Linked DNA regions of Homo sapiens: region 2 is linked to region 1. The links are contacts of gene promoters, found by promoter capture Hi-C in human tissues and cell types (Jung and others, 2019). All regions are on one chromosome and are shown on one strand. Each heading gives the region's core, a stretch centred on a gene start or on the middle of the fragment in contact. The rest is flanking DNA. Distances are from core to core; before and after follow the strand shown. Region 1 holds the start of ALG8 (ALG8 alpha-1,3-glucosyltransferase). Region 2 overlaps ALG8 (ALG8 alpha-1,3-glucosyltransferase).

What was found. Contacts are between HindIII fragments. The study calls those that stand out against the background at their distance.
Region 2: a fragment that was not itself captured here is called in contact with the fragment with the promoter of ALG8 in region 1 in 3 of the 25 tissues and cell types used here (liver, neural progenitor cells and thymus).

What each region holds. Positions count from the first base shown.
Region 1 is chr11:78,138,111-78,141,135 of GRCh38, forward strand. ALG8 (ALG8 alpha-1,3-glucosyltransferase) reads right to left here and starts at 1,516. Exons shown (of 13, transcript NM_024079.5): 1 at 1,384-1,516. The coding sequence starts at 1,478. KCTD21-AS1 (KCTD21 antisense RNA 1) reads left to right here and starts at 1,683. Exons shown (of 3, transcript NR_102281.1): 1 at 1,683-1,962. RefSeq lists enhancers at 1,099-1,208, 1,289-1,368, 1,979-2,088, 2,249-2,959. The HindIII fragment of the contact is 8,215 bases long and covers 1-3,025 here.
Region 2 is chr11:78,101,361-78,104,385 of GRCh38, forward strand. It overlaps ALG8 (ALG8 alpha-1,3-glucosyltransferase), which reads right to left. Exons shown (of 13, transcript NM_024079.5): 11 at 2,996-3,025; 12 at 2,620-2,692. Among named protein-coding and RNA genes, the nearest start is that of NDUFC2-KCTD14, 23 kb to the left of the region's middle. The HindIII fragment of the contact is 6,932 bases long and covers 1-3,025 here.

The DNA of each region.
Region 1 (3,025 bases), core at 266-2,765:
CGAGGCAGGTGGATCACTTGAGGTCAGGAGATTTGAGATCAGCCCTCCGCCATCATGGTGAAACCCCATCTCTACTAAAAATACAAAAATTAGCCTGGCGCGGTGGTGCAAGCCTGTAATCCCAGCTACTCCGGAGGCTGAGGCAGGAGAATCGTTTGAACCCGGGAGGCAGAGGTTGCAGTAAGCTGAGATCGTGCCACTGTACTCCAGCCTGGGTGACAGAGTGGGACGAGACTGTCTCAAAAAAAAAAAAAATAACAAACAAAAAAAACAACTCTGAGGATACATTTCTAGCCTGAGGCAACTAAAGCAAGAAATAATCTTATGCACAGACCTACAGTTAATCATTTTACTGAATCTACATATACATTCCACTTACATGATTACATATACGCATCAGTATGGACTTACATTCTATACATATGACTCTCCCATATTCAACAAGAGATCACCAAGAGCCTGAATCAAAGGATACCAATAAAACAAACCCTAAACTAGGAAGTGGGAGGGAAAGGAGAAAAGGGATGAGGGAGAAAAAGAAAAAAGAGGAAGGATGAAGGGAAGGCGGAAGCCAATATTAATAAATACTGAGTACCTACTGTATACACACCACCATTTCATGGTTGCTTCTTGGTTTCCACGCTTTCAGTCTTGGCCCTACATCCATTTTTTACACAGCAGTCTAACTGTGGTCTTCGAAACCCTGTGTTATCTGTCCCCAGTGCACCCCATGCTGTGCCACTCCTCTCCCTCAATGCTCTGCAGCCACAAGGGGCACTTTCTGTTCCTAGAATGCTCTGACTTCTTTCCTGCCACAGGGCCTTTGAACTTACTCTTTCCTATGCCTGAACTGCTTTCCACATCACTTATTCTTTTTCATTTTTTGAATTTCAACTCAAACATCACCTTCTAAAGGAATAGCGCACAGCCACTTAGTAACCCTCTATTTCCTTTATCACAATCTGAAAAGTTCCTGTTTGTCTAGCTCCACCCACCAACTTCGAGGGCAAGGACCAGCAATGTCTTGCTCACCACCGCATCTCCCGGGAGTTAGAACGGTACCTGGCACCTCAGGCATCTGATAATACTGGCTGAATGGCTGTTGGAGGCAGAGGTTCTTAACTGCCTATTAAGGATGAGGACCCTGAGGTTCAGAAACGTTAAAGTGATTTGTTCCAAATCAGACAGCGCCAGGTCTGAACCTAGCCAGCTGGGGCTAAGTCAAGTAACAACTGGCGAAACAGAAAGCTTAGCAAAGGCAGGATAGCGACAAACACGACCTAAAGTTTTCTCTTCATACCCAGGGATATCCACACCTTTCTCTCCCGCCCTGACCGACCGCGGGGCCTCCCCGCCCAGCCCCTGGCCGTGCGAGTCCCTTACTATGTGGGGATGAGAAGGCATTTGAGAAGAGTCACCCCGAGCGCCAAAGCCGAAAACCAATTGCCAGTACCCGTGGCAATTGTGAGCGCCGCCATTGCTGCGGCACCGCACGCTTCCCACCAACTTGATCCACATCCGGGATCCCGCGCATGCGGAGAAAGCCCTCTGAAGCCGTGCCCGCTAGCTGCGCGCATGCGGCGAGCGGCGCAGCCAGTCCGGGGACTGCAGTCAGCTATTTAAACCTCCCGCCCACCTTTTCTTTAGACCCGCGTCTCACCCCGGGCCGGAAGGGCTCCTGCGCAGGCGTTTGTAGCCACTTTTAAGTTTTATCAGCTAGTTCATGCTTGCGTTGAAAGAGTGGTCGTTTGCGCTGGGTCATCACTGTGTAGTATTGGGGATACTTAGGTGAGAAAAAAACTTAACGCTAGAGACGTTCACGCACTAGTGGAGAAGCCAGGATTGTTGCCCTAGAGTTACAGTAGATAAAAGTACCTCAGAGAACTGCGGGGGCTCCCAACCTGGACGCTTGCACCGGAGTATTAAATCCAGCTAGAGAATGGCATGTGCAAAGATACAGAGGTGAGAAACATTGTGTTTTTAGAACTCTGAGCGAGGCTCTTGGCTCACCTCCTGCTTGAGCGGAACCCATTCTGGAAGCAGGGTAGAGGCTAGTCCTAACGCTTAGTGTACAAATAGCCTACGGTTCATGTTAAAATAATTCGGATTCTGATTCAGTAGGCCCAACAAACTCGCAGATTGCGTAATGACTGAGGCACATGCAATTTAATTAGGCTTGTCTCATTATTTTACTGTATGATCTTGGACAAACTAAACTCTAAACCTCAGTTTCTTTTTTTAAAATTTTTATTTATTTATTTATTTTTGAAAATAGGAGATAAAAATGGTTTCTGGCCGGACGCGGTGGCTCACGCCTGTAATCCCAACACTGGGAGGCCGAGGTGGGCGAATCACCTGAGTTCAGGAGTTTGAGATCAGCCTGGCCAATATGGTGAAACCCTGTCTCTACTAAAAATTAAAAAAAAATTAGCCGTGCATGGTGGCGGGCGCTTGTAATTCCACCTACTCGGGAGGCTGAAGCTAGAGAATCGCGTGAACGTGGGAGGCGGAGGTTGCAGTGAGCTGAGATCGCGCCATTGCACTTCAGCCTGGGCAAGCCTCAGGCCTGTTTATCCAAGATGCTTTTGGTCTAAAAAAAAAAAAGTTTCAGCCTCATAAACTGGTTGTGAGGATTAAATGAGAATGCATGTAAATTGCTTGATATGATTCCAGGACAGAATAAATGCTCAATAATGTGTCAGATCAGTTAATTATCTTGCTGAAAGATGCACAGCAAGTAGGTGACAGTGTCACCTCCCTAATATGAGTTTATGCCCTCCCACAGCTTCAGCTGCCACCCATGTGAATATGATTCACAGATTTCTAGCTCAGCACTCTTCTCTCACTTTCAGACCCTGGTCTCCAGTTGGCTACCTGACCTCACGTAGATGTTTTTGTTTTGTTTTTGAGAGACAGGGTCTCATTCTGTGGCCCAGGCTGGAGGGCAATAGTGCAAACACAGCTCACTGCAGCCTCGATCTCCTGGGCTCAAGCAGTCCTCCCCACCTCAGCCTCCTGAGTAACT
Region 2 (3,025 bases), core at 186-2,685, 37 kb before region 1:
GCTCATGCCTGTAATCCCAGCACTTTGGGAGGCCAAGGCAGGTGGATCACCTGAGGTCAGGAGTTCTAGACTAACCTGGCCAACATGGAGAAACCCCATCTCTACTAAAAATACAAAAATTAGCCGACCAGGGTGGCACAGGCCTGTAATTCCAGCTACTTGGGAGGCTGAGGCAGGAGAACTGCTTTAACTGGGTTGCAGTGAGTCGATATGGCACCACTGCACTCTAGCCTGGGCGACAGAGTGAGACTCTGTCTCAAAAAATAAATAAAAATAAAAAATAAGTTTCACATTTAGAAAAAAATGATAATTATATACGTTATATTATCTCAACAATCTAAATTTACTCCACCATTGACCTATGCTGTTATTTAGCTCAAGCTGCTCAGAGAGAATTAGTTCTGCATTTGAAAGAGGTAAAGGGGTTGGGTGCTGTGACATTGGAATAAGAACATGAGAAACAATATAGAATTGAAGATTTAAAAAAAATTTTCTTTTTGAGATGGAGCGTTGCTCTGTCACCCAGACTGGAGTGCAGTGGTGCAATCTCAGCTTACTGCAACCTCCACCTCCTGGGTTCAAGCGATTCTCTTGCCTCAGCCTCCCAAGTAGCTGGGATTACAGGCGCCTGCCACCATGCCCAGCTAATTTTTGTATTTTCTATAGAGACAAGGTTTCACCAGATTTTTAAAATATTTTTTATTTTGGTAAAATATATATAACATGAAATTTGCTATTTGTTTAACCATTTTTAAGTATACAGTTTGATGGTATTAAGTAGATCAATAATATGCGCCCATCGCCACTATCCACCTTCAAAATATTTTCGTGACCCCAAACAGAAACTCTGGAACCATTAACAATAACTTCCCATCCCCCTGTTCCCTCAACCTCTAATCTACTTTCTGTCTCTATGTTTGTTTATTCTAGAATTTCCTATCAGTGGAACGATATGATATTTGTTCTATTCTCTCGTTTCTTTCACTTAGCATGTTTTCAAGATTCATTCATGTAGCATGTATTGGAACTTCATTCTTTTCTTTGGCTGAATAATCCACTATATGTATATATCACACTTTATCATGTATTTGTTGATGGACATTGGGTTGTTTCCATCTTTTAGCTAGTATGAATAATGCTACAATGAATACTGATGTACAAGTATCTGTTGAGTCCCTGTTTCCATTCTTTTGGGTATAGGGGTGGAATTGCTGGGTCACATGGCTATAACTGCATTTTAACATAGTTAATTATATAAGTTTTTATGGACACAGTTATGAACCATAAGCAAGCTTTAAAAAATTACAGTTGGCCGGGCATGGTGGCTCACACCTGTAATGCCAGCACTTTGGGAGGCCAAGGACGGTGGATCACCTGAGGTCAGGAGTTTGAGACCAGCCTGACCAACATGGAGAAACCCATCTCTACTAAAAATACAAAATCAGCTGGGTGTGGTGGCGCATGCTTGTAATCCTAGCTGCTAGGGAGGCTGAGGCAGGAGAATCGCTTGAACCTGGGAGGCGGAGGTTTCAGTTAGCTGAGATCGTGCCATTGCACTCCAGCCTGGGCAACAAGGGTGAAACTCCGTCTCAAAAAAAAAAAAAAAAAATTATAGTTAACATTACATACAGTTTAGAAGAGAAAAAGTTTCCATCTATAATTCTGTAGTAAAATTTGTACATAGTTGGGTGCGGTGGCTCAACGCCTGTAATCCCAGCACTTTGGGAGGCCGAGGTGGGTGGATCACCTGAGGTTGGGAGTTCAAGACCAGCCTGACCAACACAGAGAAACCCCATCTCTAATAAAAATACAAAATTAGCCGGGCACAGCAGCTCACGCCTGTACTTCCAGCACTATGGGAGGCCAAGGTAAGTGGATCACCTGACGTCAGGAGCTCGAGAGCAGCCTGGCCAACATGGTGAAACCCCACCTCTACTAAAAATATAAAAAATTAGCCAGGTGTGGTAGTGATGCATACCTATAATCTCAGCTACTCAGGAGGCTGAGGCTGGAGAATCGCTTGAACCCAGGAGGCGGAAGTTGCAGTGAGTGGAGATCGCGCCACTGCACTCCAGCCTGGGCGACAAGAGTGAAACTCCGTCTCCAAAAAAAAAAAAATTAGCTGGGCATGGTGGCGCATGCCTGTAATCCCAGTAACTTGGGAGGCTGAGGCAGGAGAATAGCTTGAACCCGGTAGGCGGAGGGTGTGGTGAGCCGAGATCACGCCATTGCCCTCCAGCCTGGGCAACAAGAGCAAAACTCCGTCTCAAAAAAACGAACAAAAAAAATTTGTACATAGTATCTTTTAGTTTTTTCCATATCTATCTGTATTTAATAGTTTTATTCATAAAGCATATTTTACATTCAGTTTTTGAGTTTTCATATAGGATTTTAATTTAAGTAGTCCTCCTCAAATACTCCCCCAAACTAAAGACACAAACTATGTTGTCTCGACTGAGTGATGGGATTGAGTGATTTCTCCCTCTATTTACCAATTTTTTTTGTAATGTTGTCATATTACTGTTATAACTTAAAAATAAAATTTAAAGAGCTTATTTGACCACTTAGGTGTAAACATTTCACAAGAGTAAGTATAATTTTAAACATTTTTTTGATTACCTGAATAAAGTCTTCAGTGACGAAATACTATATATGGTGAATAGTAACATGAGTAAGATTTTAATGGGAAGTTCTGTTAAAAGAATAGAAAAAAAAAGATAATTTAGCTGATGACAGAAAGACTTATGATGCTGAAAGTAATATAAGCACACTGACACAGCTATATAGTGCTAATAATACTTTTTAAGTTTAATTTTACATTTTTGTGACATCTAGAGATGCTGAGAATTACAGGAAATTGGAGGTTTTATTTAAGAGGATGAATGATCTCTATCCAAGAGATTTTAGAGTTGTTTAAATTAGATGTATTAATCTGTGGGCCTCGATGAAAAGGTTGTGATAGTCAAATATATTTTTCTCAGAAGACGCTGTTTACCTGGTGCAGTGAAGAGCAGAGGAAAGAGGG